Linked DNA regions of Homo sapiens: region 1 is linked to region 2. Evidence: promoter capture Hi-C in 16 types of primary human blood cells and fetal thymus (Javierre and others, 2016). All regions are on one chromosome and are shown on one strand. Each heading gives the region's core, a stretch centred on a gene start or on the middle of the fragment in contact. The rest is flanking DNA. Distances are from core to core; before and after follow the strand shown.

Region 1 (5,168 bases), core at 1-2,500, 1.6 Mb after region 2:
GTGAGTGGGGGTGTGATGGGGGTGAGTGAGCAGGGGGTGAGTGAGTGGGGGTGTGATGGGGGTGAGCAGGGGGTGAGTGAGCGGGGGTGTGAGCGGGTGAGCGGGGATGAGTGGGGTGTAAGTGGGGGTGAGTGAGCAGGGCCTATGCAGGGAGGTGCAGAGTTGGGCGTGGGTTGGTTGGGTGCTGGATGGTGAGAAGCTCTGCTGGAGAGCTAAGCAGGGCCTGGGGCCTCAGGCTGTGGCTTGGCCTTTTCCCTAAGGGCACTGGGGAGCCATCTGCCCAAGGAGGAGTGGGGGGGTTCAGACCCAGGCTTCTTCCCCAGGGCCATTCTCTGACTGCAAGGAGACCCTCCAGAAACCCGGCACCCCAGCCCCCACAGCAGCCTCCGGTGGGTCCTGGCACAATAGCCTGTGGCACCTCCTACGAGGCCCTCCCCGGGGTGCTGGGGGATTCAGACTTGGAAACGCAGGCCAGGGAACGAGGATCATGCTTCCCTGTCTCCCCACCCCGCGTTGAACAGTCGAGGAGACCGGGGGCCAGGGGACGAGGATCATGCTTCCCTGTCTCCCCACCCCGCGTTGAACAGTCGAGGAGACCGGGGGCCAGGGGACGAGGATCATGCTTCCCTGTCTCCCCACCCCGCGTTGAACAGTCGAGAAGACCGAGGGTGGGGCTGATACCCCACATGCTTACTTGTGGTCATTTTTGAGTCACTTTTGGTAGTTTGTGTCTTTCTAGGAGTTTGGCTGTTGCGTCTAGATGATCTGATTTGTTGGCATACAATTGTTCGTAGTGTTCTCATGGAATCCTTTTATTTCTGTCAGGTCAGCAATAATGTTCCCTCTTTCATTTCTGATTTTAGAAACTTGGGTTTTTAATTTTTAATTTATTTATTTTTATTAGAGATGGGGTCTCGTCATGTTCCCCCAGGCTGGTCTTGAATGCTGGCCTCAAGCGATCCTCCCACCTCGGCCTCACAAAGTGCTGGGATGACAGGCGTGAGCCATGGTGCTCGGTCTCTGATTTTAGTCATTTGTGTCCCATCTTTCTTTTCTTGGTCAGTCTGGTGAAAGATTTGTCAATTTTGTTAATATTTTTGAAAAACCCACCTTTGGGTCTGTTGATTAGCTCTTTTGTTTTTCCATTCTCTGTATTTTTACTTCCCATTTCCACTCTCATGTTTATTATTTTCTTCCTTTTACTCGCTTTGGGTTTAGTTCATTCTTCTTTTTCTAGTTTCTTAAGGTGGAAGGTTGGGTTTTTGATTTGAGATTTTTCTTCTTTCTTTGCATGTAGACATTTAGAGTTACACATTTCCCTTTCAGCACTGCCTTAGCTGCATCTTGGAATTTTTGATATGCTGTGCTTTTTTTTTTTTTTTTTTAGACAGAGTTTTGCTCTGTTGCTCAGGCTGGAGTGCAGTGGTGCAATCTCGGCTCACTGCAACCTCTACCCGGGTTCAAGCCATTCTCCTGCCTCGGCCTCCTGAGTAGCTGGGATTACAGACATGCACCACCACACCCGGCTAATTTTTGTATTTTTTTGTAGAGACGGGGGTTTCACCATGTTTCCCAGGCTAGTCTCAAACTCCTGGACTCAAGCGATCCTCCCGCCTCGGCCTCCCGCAGTGCTGGGATGACAGGCATGAGCCATTGCTCTGGCCCGTGCTGTGCGTTTGTTTTCATTCTTCTCAAATTAGTTTTCAGTTTCCCTGATGGTCTCTTCTTTCACTCACTGGTTGTTTAGGAGTGTGTCATTTCCACATATTTTTGACTTTCCCAAATTTCCTTCACTGTTGATGTCCAGTTTCACGCCAGTACAACTGAAGAACACTCCTGCTTTGGTCTCAGTCCTTTTCCATTCACTGAGGCTCATTGTGGGGCCTGGCACGTGGCCTGTCTTGGGGAATGTCCCATGGGCGCTTGAGAGGACTGTGTATTCTGCCGTTGTTGGGTGGCGTGTGTGATAGATGTCCACTCGGCGTACCTGGTTTCTGGTGTTCATCTCCGGAATGTTGCTGACACTAGAAAATCAGCAGCTTTCCACCGTTCCCAGCGCCTTGGCTTTGGGAGAGGCCCGTGAGCCTGTGGGTTTGGAGCCTGGCTGCACGGGAGGAGCACGTGTGGGAATGCCAGGGGCCGGCTTTGAGCCCCATTCCCCCAACATGATGCCGTGTGTGGCAGACGTGACATTTGGTTTTGCTCCCCCAGGGTTCCATCTGCGACAGGGGCTACTTGTGTCCCTGGCCTCGTCAGCTCGGGCTGAAGGCGGCCCTGGTCCTGGCCAGAGGGGCTTTGTGAAGCAGAAATAGATGGCCTGGTGCAGGGGCCAAGCTCGGCTAGGGCCTCAGCCCTGGGAGTTGTAAAGAAGGCCGGCCTCTACCATGGGCATCTGCACCAAGCTGTGCCCATGTCACGGTGTGCTCAGCGGTTCCCCGCCTGTGGGGCCCAGGCTCACAGAGGTGTGAAAGAGGCAAGCACACCGCAGGGGCCTCTGAGCCCAGCCAGCCTCGCTTCAATGCTGGGAGGCTGACGTCTTCCTTTTTGTCTTCTGCCCAGGCCAGCTGCGGGCCGTCCAGCGGCTGTGCCACTTCTACAGCGCCGTCATGCCCAGCGAGGCCCAGTGTGTCATCTACCATGAGCTCCAGCTCTCCCTGGCCTGCAAGGTGGCCGACAAGGTGCTGGAGGGGCAGCTCCTGGAGACCATCAGCCAGCTCTACCTGTCCCTGGGCACCGAGCGGTGAGGGCTGGCTCTGTGGTGGTGGGGGCGGGGGGAGGGGGCAAAGGGGGCGGCGGGGCGGGGGCACAGGGAAGCTGGCCCAGGGCCCCAGCAGCCCCTCTCCTTGGGATCATTTGGTTCCTTGGCATCGGATGCTCTGAGCTGGGGGGCCTGGGGTTGTCCCAGGGCTGCTGATGACCCGTGAGTCCCAGCTTGAGCTTCCCTTGTTGGGTGACACGTCTTCCCATCCCTGCTTGCACACCTCCCCAAAGGTCATCTCAACCCCAGCAGAAGCAGTTACATGCATTCTGGGCTGTTCTTCCTACCTGGTGGCTTTTGTCATCTGACCTCTGCCTGCCCCGAGTCTTCACTCCTGGCCTTCACCTGTCCCCTTAAATGTGACCACAGCAGCCACCTGTGGCTTCTCTCCCACAGAAGACAGAGCCAGTTGTGTCACCTGCTTCCCTGGGGCAGGGTTTCAAGGTCTCACATCCCACATGTGGCCCACTTGGCTCTCCTGGAGCATCCTGACCTGGTGGGGTAACCATGGCCCTGGCCACCCCACCCACAGGGCCCAGTGACATTGCTGCACTCACACCCCTTCGACTCACCAAGAGAGCAGGGAAGGAGCCGGATTCCACAGGGACCCGGGAGATCGGCTCCAGCCTTGGCCTCAGGTTCACAGCAGGAAAATGGGCCAGTGTGTTAGAGCCATGTTCTCAAAGTGTGGTCCCTGGACCAGCAGAGCAGCATCCATGTCACCTAGGAGCTTGTGGCAAGTGGGAGTTCTAGGGCCCGCCCCAGGCCCGTGGAGCCAGAAGCTCTGGGGGCAGGCCAGCAAGCTATATGGACAGGCCTCTGGATGACTGTGATGCCTGCGCACCTTGAGAACCATCGGCCTGGATAGCATCTGAACACTGATGGCTCCTGGTGCGTCTAGAGAAGACACAGGCCATGTCTGGGACGCGGGGGAGATGGACTAGCACGCTCCCCCAGCCACAGGGCAGCATGATGCCCAGTTCCCTCAGAAGGATGTCCTTCGTCTTTTCCTTGCCGTGTGTGTTCAACCCCACCCTCTCAGCAGCCCGGGAAGGGCAGGACACTGCACACACAAGAGGGCCGTTCCCAGTCCCATTCCAGATTCATCTGTCACCAGACCCACGGGAGGAGGCAGACTGGTTCCAGGAGGATGACAGCCCTTGTTCTGACACCTGTGTCTGATACCAGGGCCTACAAATCCGCACTGGACTACACCAAACGAAGTCTGGGGATTTTCATTGACCTCCAGAAGAAAGAGAAGGAGGCGCATGCCTGGCTGCAAGCAGGGAAGATCTATTACATCTTGCGGCAGAGCGAGCTGGTGGACCTCTACATCCAGGTGAGTGATGAGGGATGCAGGAGGGCCTCTGCACATGTTCACTCTCCATCCATCCATCCGTCCATTGATGATGATGATAGATGATCCTTCCATCATCTATCCATTTACCTGTTCATCCTTCCTTCCATCCATCCATCCTTCCATCATCTACCCATTCACCTATGGGTCCTTCCATCCATCCATCATCCATCCATCCATCCTTCCATTATCCATCCATTCACCTGTTCATCCATCCATCCATCCATCATCCATCCATCCTTCCATTATCCATCCATTCACCTGTTCGTCCTTCCATCCATCCATCATCCGTCCATCCATCCATCAGGCATCCATCCTTCCATCATCCATCCATTCACCTATCATCCTTCCATTCATCCATCCATCATCCATCCATCCATCATTCATCCACTCTTTTGTCATCCATCCAATCACCCATCAATCCATCCATTCACCTGTTTGTCCATCCATCCATCCATCATCCATCCATCCTTCCATTTATCCATCCATCATCCATCCATCCATTCATCCATCATTCATCCATCCTTTTATCATCCATCCATTTATTCATCCATCATTCCATCATCCATCCATTCACCTGTTGATCCTTCCATCATCCATCCATTTATCCATTCATCCATCCATCCATCCTTCCATCATCCATCCATCCATCATCCATCCATTCATCCATCCACCATCCACCATCCTTCCATCATCCATCCATTCACCCATCCATCCATTCACCTGTTTGTCCACCCATCCATTTATCCATCCATCATTCATCCATCCACCCACCCATCTACCCATTAATCCATCCCTCCATTCGTCTGTCTGTCCATTTGTTTATCCATACATTCGTCTATCCACCCATCTATCCATCCATATGTACATACATACATCATCCACCCTCCACCCATCCATCCATACATTATCCACCCACCCATACATACACACATCATTCAACCCATCCATCCATCCATCCACCCATCCATCCATTCATCTGTCCATCCGTCCGTCCATCCATCCATCCACCCACCTATACATCTGCTCATCCATTTATCCATCCATCCACCC
Region 2 (6,003 bases), core at 3,504-6,003:
AGGCAGGCAGATTGCTTGAGCTCAGTTCAAGACCAACCTGGGTAACATAGTGAAACCACACCTCTACAAAAAAATACAAAAAAATTAGCCAGGTATTGTGGTATGTGCCTGTAGTCCCAGCTACTCGGGAGGCTGAGTTGCGAGGATCACCTGGGCCAGGGAGGTCGAGGCTGCAGTGAGCCGTGATCGCACCACTGCATTCCAGCCTGGGCAGCAGAGCAAGACTCTGCCTCAAAAGAAGAAAAATAGGACACAGAAGACACTTGGGTTTGGGTTGCAAAAGGGGTGAGGAGGGGTTTTGGAGATACAAAAGGAGTAAATATTGTTTCCTGAAGAGGATGCTTCAAGCCACAGTTTCTAAAGAGAAAATCCAGAACGTCTGGGCCTCCAAGCAAGATCCCTTCACCTGAGAGTGAGCAAATGAAGACATGGGGAAAAGAAGAGACTGGCATTTTAATGTATCCGGGATTATAATCCCACCTACGGCCATCAACTGGCTTTTGCTGCATGAGCCACCCTAAATCTCCGTGACAACAATAAACATTCCTCATGGTCTGCAGTTTGGCTGGGAGTTGGATGATCCAGGCTGGGCTCAGTAATGGTCTGCGGGCCACCTGGTCTAGGCTAGGCCTGTCTAGAGCAGCTTGGTTCTGTGTTTCTCTCACCATCTTCCCAAGACCGGTGCCCGTTCTTCTCATAGCGAAGGCAGAGACGCAGAGGAAAGCGAGTCCAACCGCGAAAGCCTCTTTCAAACCTGTGCTTGTGTCCTCTCTGTGAACCTCTCATTGGCCAAAGCAAGACATGAGGCAGAGAACATGGATGAATGAAGGGGTGGGGAATTGGGGTCATTTATACTACCTACCATCATCTGTGCCCACTGCCCCCATTATTCATGGAAAAATTGCCCACCCCCATCTAAGGACCCCCTTCCTACTTTCTTCCAATCATGGCCTCAAGCAAGAAGTCTAGCATCTTGTGAGCCACATCAGGTCCTAATATGGCTTTTATTGGTCTAGAAGCTTATGCACTTTTTGAAAAGACAAGTTATTGTCCACTTAGACCCAACATTCAGTGATGAGACAGGGACAGGATAAGGCCCATTGGTAAGGGAAGAATGAAGGGGTGAAATAGCAGTCACATAGCTATTTTGAAACTCGGTGGAGTAAACATTGCCAGGTCCTCTACTTTAAAGCTAGGGAATGTAAGGCTTTGGTTCTGCAACCTGGAAGTGGCTCAGCAGCACAGGAGTTGGCAAACATTTTCTGTAAAGATCTAAACAGTAAATATGTTAGGCTTTGTGGGCCACATACAGTCTCTATCACATATTCCTATTTCTCCTTTTCTTTTTTAAAGATATGAAAGTCTTTCTTAGTTCAGGAGCTGCAGTTTGCCATTGGTCCCCACACACTGGCCTGCACTGACACATCCTTCTTTTTCCATCACACTTCTGAAAAGGGCATTTTAAAATGCGCCAGTTTGGGCTACTGAGCCTGCTTTCTGCCGGTGGAAAGATTGGGAGTCTAGAAGTCCTTTGACACTTTGAACTGTCGCTTGGATAAGCTAGAGCATTTTTGCTAATATGTTCACCTCGAAACTTTTGTGGGTTTCCATGTATTTTATTCCATTCCACTCATACCAAGAGACAATTCTTTTTGAGGTGTGTTTAGCTCTCTAGACTTAATTACTGCTGTGTTTGTCACATTGGCTGCAGTGAGATCGTGACATTAGGATTCCTGGGAGCCTGCGCTGGGCAGAATTTAAGATGGCTCCTCCATGATCTTCACTCTCTGGGTGAAAACTGTCGGTCAGCCCATGCCCAGGATTGTTGATCAGTGCTGAAGGTCCTGAGGCTGTTTTTAGCATAGTCTAAAACTTAAGCAAAGCAATAATTATAATTGAGCAAGCAAAATTGTTCTTTAACATGGAATCGATGCTGTTACACAACCACATAAGCACTATTTTAGTCCGTTCACGCTGCTCTAACAAAATACCAGAAACTGGGTGTCTTCTAAACAACAGAAATGTATTTTCTGAGTTCTGAAGGCTGAGCAGTACAAGATCACGGTGCCAGCAGGTTTGGTGCCTGGTGAGGGCCCACTTCTGGTTCATAGAAGCCCATCTTTTTGCTATAACCTCCCACAGCAGAAGGGGTAAGGCGGCCCTGTGGAGTTGTTTTATGAGGGTGCTAATCTCATTCATGAAAGCTGAGCCTTCATGACCACATCACCTCCCAAAGACCCCACCTCCTAATATCATCACATTGGGGATTGCTTTGCAACATATGAATTTTGGGGGGACTCACATATTTGGACCATGGCAAGCCCCTTAAAAGCAGAGTTTTCTCCAGCTGGGAGCAGAAGGGGATGACAGAGAGGCTGGAAGGATAAGAAGGATCCGACATGCTCTTACTGGCTTTGAAGATGGAGAGGGCCACGTTTAAGGACCGGAGAGTGACCTGTAGGAGCTGAGAGTGACCTCTGGCCATCAAGCATGGAGGGTCCCCTTAACTTTCTGCTAGAGGTACACAGTGAATAAGCCTAGACACAATGACATGCAGTGGGTGCTTAATAAAGATCTCTTGGGAAATGAGCATTAAAGCAACATTTACTGGGCTCCTGCTGTATGCCAAGCCCATTTCAAGCTGAGGAAACAGATGACTAAACTGACTAAGTACCTGCCCCTAGGGCCTGTTTTCTCGCAGAGGCACTTATATAGTCCAGTGAAGAAAGAAATCTTCCAGAATGATTCCTAAAGGCATATTCAGAGCCTGGCAGGGCTGAGGAAACAGTGGTGAATCAGACCCACCTTGGCCTTGGGTGCCCACAGTGGGTAAAGCCAGACTCCAACTTACAGCCAAAGCCCCAGGCAGAGTGAAGCTTATACCCTTAGGAAAAAAGTAGGGGGAGGCTGGGTCACAGCACTCAGCATCAGCACCGAGGCCGCAGCTCTGTGTTCCAGGAGCATCTGCCCGAGGCAAGAGGGAGCGGAGGCCCTGGCTGGGGGCAAATCCCGACGCTGTGAGCACCTGGCTTCTCGGAGCCTGGAATATTCTAACGGGACCACTGAATTCGGTTGTTTATTATTTTTATTTATTTATTTTGAGACAGGGTCTCGCCCTGTCACTGGGCTGGGGTGCAGTGGCGCAATCAGGCGTTCAGAGCTCACCTCGGTCTCGACCTGCTGGGCTCAAGCAATCTTCCCGGCTCAGCCTCTCAAGTAGCTGGGACTATCGGCACGCGCCACCACGCCCAGCTAATTTCTTGTGTTTTTTTTGGTAGGGTTTTTTCCCTTGTTGCCCAGGCTGGTATGGAACTCCTGAGCTCAAGCGATCCTCTCACCTCAGCCTCCCAAAGTGCTGGGATTATAGGCGTGAGCCACACGCCCGGCCTGGGTGTTTATGATTTAGAATGTTGGTGAGAGGTGACAGTGTGCTGGCAGTCCTCACAGCCCTCGCTCACTCTCGGTGCCTCCTCTGCCTGGGCTCCCACTTTGGCAGCACTTGAGGAGCCCTTCAGCCCACTGCTGCACTGTGGAGGCCCCTTTCTGGGCTGGCCAAGGCCAGAGCCGGCTCTCTCAGCTTGCAGGGAGGTGTGGAGGGAGAGGCGCGAGCGGGCACCGGGGCTGCACACGGCGCTTGCGGGCCAGCTGGAGTTCAGGGTGGGCGTGGGCTTGGTGGGCCCCGCACTCGGAGCAGCCGGCTGGCCCTGCCAGCCCCCGGCAATGAGGGGCTTAGCACCCGGGCCAGCGGCTGCGGAGGGTGTACTGGGTCCCTCAGCAGTGCCAGCCCACCGGCGCTGTGCTCGATTTCTCACCGGGCCTTAGCTGCCTTTCCGAGGGGCAGGGCTCGGGACCTGCAGCCCGCCATGCCTGAGCCTCCCACCCCCTCCATGGGCTCCTGTGCTGCCCGAGCCTCCTCGACGAGCACCACCCCCTGCTCCACGGCGCCCAGTCCCATCACCACCCAAGGGCTGAGGAGTGTGGGCGCACGGTGCCGTTCTCGCAGGCAGCTCCACCTGCAGCCCTGGTGTGGGATCCACTTGGTGAAGCCAGCTGGGCTCCTGAGTCTGGTGGGGATGTGGAGAACCTTTATGTCTAGCTCAGGGATTGTAAATACACCAATCAGCACCGTGTGTCTAGCTCAGGGTTTGTGAATATACCAATCGACTCTGCTGGGGCCTTGGAGAACCTTTGTGTCTAGCTCAGGGATTGTAAACGCACCAATCAGCACCCTGTCAAAACAGACCACTCGGCTCTACCAATCAGCAGGATGTGGGTGGGGCCAGATAAGACAATAAAAGCAGGCTGCCGGAGCCAGCAGTGGCAACCGGCTCAGGTCCCCTTCTATTGTGGAAGCTTTGTTCTTTCTCTCTTTGCAATAAATCCTGCTGCTGCTCACTCTTTGGGTCCACACTGCCTTTATGAGCCGTAACAGGTCTGCAGTTTCACTCCTGAGCCGGCGAGACCACGAACCCACCAGAAGGAAAAAACTCCGAACACATCCGAACATCAGAAGGAACAAACTCCAGACGCGCCACTTTAAGAGCTGTAACACTCACCGCGAGGGTCCGTGGCTTCATTCTTGAAGTCAGTGAGACCAAGAACCCACCAATTCCGGACACATTGGGAACTTAGAGCAGTGCTTGGGACATGGTTATCAGCGTCAGATATTTCCTTAAACTAGCGTGAAGTCGACTTTAACCTTCCAGCAGTGTGAGTGAGGGCCCTGACCCTAGAATCAACGCCCAAAGAGCTGTGGCGCTACAGCGGGCGGGGACATGGGGTGCGCATGCGTGCGGGGGGGTACGCGTGCGTGCAAGTGCGCGTGCGCGCGCAGGACCGCTGAGGCGGGAGCCCCGAATGCGGTTCTCGCTTGCTGCGTGGCGGTAAAGGACCGCAGGTGTCGTAAAAGGGCCGCAGTGGCAGCGTCCTGGCCGACGGCTAGTAGCCCATTTTGGATACCGTCCTCGCTGCGGAAAGTTGGGGCAACCTGTTGCTAGTCTGGTCGTTGGTGACAGCGAGGCTTCCGCGCTCGCTGCTGGTGAGCAGCCCCGGCGTGCCCCGCGGGCTGGAAGAGGCGGCGGCGTGATGCGGCCCGTGGACGCGGACGAGGCGCGGGAGCCCCGCGAGGAGCCGGGCAGCCCGCTGAGCCCCGCGCCCCGCGCCGGCCGCGAGAACCTGGCCTCCCTGGAGCGCGAGCGCGCCCGGGCGCACTGGCGGGCCCGCAGGAAGCTGCTGGAGATCCAGAGCCTGCTCGACGCCATCAAGAGTGAGGTGGAGGCAGAGGAGCGGGGCGCCCGGGCCCCAGCACCCCGCCCGCGTGCGGAGGCTGAGGAGCGGGTGGCTCGGCTGTGCGCCGAAGCAGAGAGGAAGGCTGCGGAGGCGGCGCGGATGGGCAGGCGGATCGTGGAGCTGCACCAGCGGATCGCCGGCTGCGAGTGCTGCTGAGCCGGCGAGGCCGCGCGGGTCTGGAGCGGAGCGCGGCGGGGAGTGTCCCGCGTGGAAGGCGCTGGGTAGGCAGGGAGGGGAGCGCAGAGCCGTGCCACGCTCTCCGCGGAGTTGGTTTCATTCTTTTTTCATAGGTAATTAGAGAAAATAATTTGATATGTTGTTGTAAAGAGTCATGACCACTGGAAGTATTTTCAGGACGTAGACCTGGTGGGTCACTACGTGGGGGGAGAGAGGTGTGAAGCGGAGGTACATGCTGGAAACGTGTGAATGTTGTTACGAGATTGGAGCGTTTGCGATGACCTTCCTGCAGGTGGAAGCATTGTGCACAGGTGGTTGGGTTTGTTTGACTCCCGGATATGAGAATATCAAGCTCAAAATTTATGTTGTGATGATGAATTTCTCCCACTTGTACTTTAGGTGGCCAACTGACGAACTGTGTTCACCTGATAAGGAGTCGTGGCTGCTTGGACAGGCTCAAACCAAGAGAGCCTTTCGTTTTGTCTCCCCTGTTTTTCTGCCTGCGTTTTCTCCACATTAGCCACTCAATTTCCAGTA

Evidence for each region. Contacts are between HindIII fragments. The CHiCAGO score rates a contact against its expected background, and 5 or more counts as called.
Region 1: a contact is called between a fragment that was not itself captured here and the fragment with the promoter of LINC02482 in region 2, in 2 of 17 cell types (total B cells and fetal thymus). The highest score is 5.8, in total B cells.

The regions. Positions count from the first base shown.
Region 1 is chr4:8,229,417-8,234,584 of GRCh38, forward strand. It overlaps SH3TC1 (SH3 domain and tetratricopeptide repeats 1), which reads left to right. Exons shown (of 18, transcript NM_018986.5): 13 at 2,560-2,740; 14 at 3,947-4,097. Among named protein-coding and RNA genes, the nearest start is that of SH3TC1, 33 kb to the left of the region's middle. RefSeq lists an enhancer at 1-219 and a silencer at 1-36. The HindIII fragment of the contact is 8,587 bases long and covers 1-5,168 here.
Region 2 is chr4:6,669,128-6,675,130 of GRCh38, forward strand. It overlaps LINC02482 (long intergenic non-protein coding RNA 2482), which reads right to left and starts at 4,754. Exons shown (of 2, transcript NR_134665.1): 1 at 4,557-4,754; 2 at 1,601-1,866. MRFAP1L2 (Morf4 family associated protein 1 like 2) reads left to right here and starts at 4,948. Exons shown (of 1, transcript NM_138699.3): 1 at 4,948-6,003. The coding sequence starts at 5,086. The coding sequence ends at 5,445. RefSeq lists an enhancer at 3,942-4,550 and a silencer at 5,023-5,252. The HindIII fragment of the contact is 2,330 bases long and covers 4,352-6,003 here.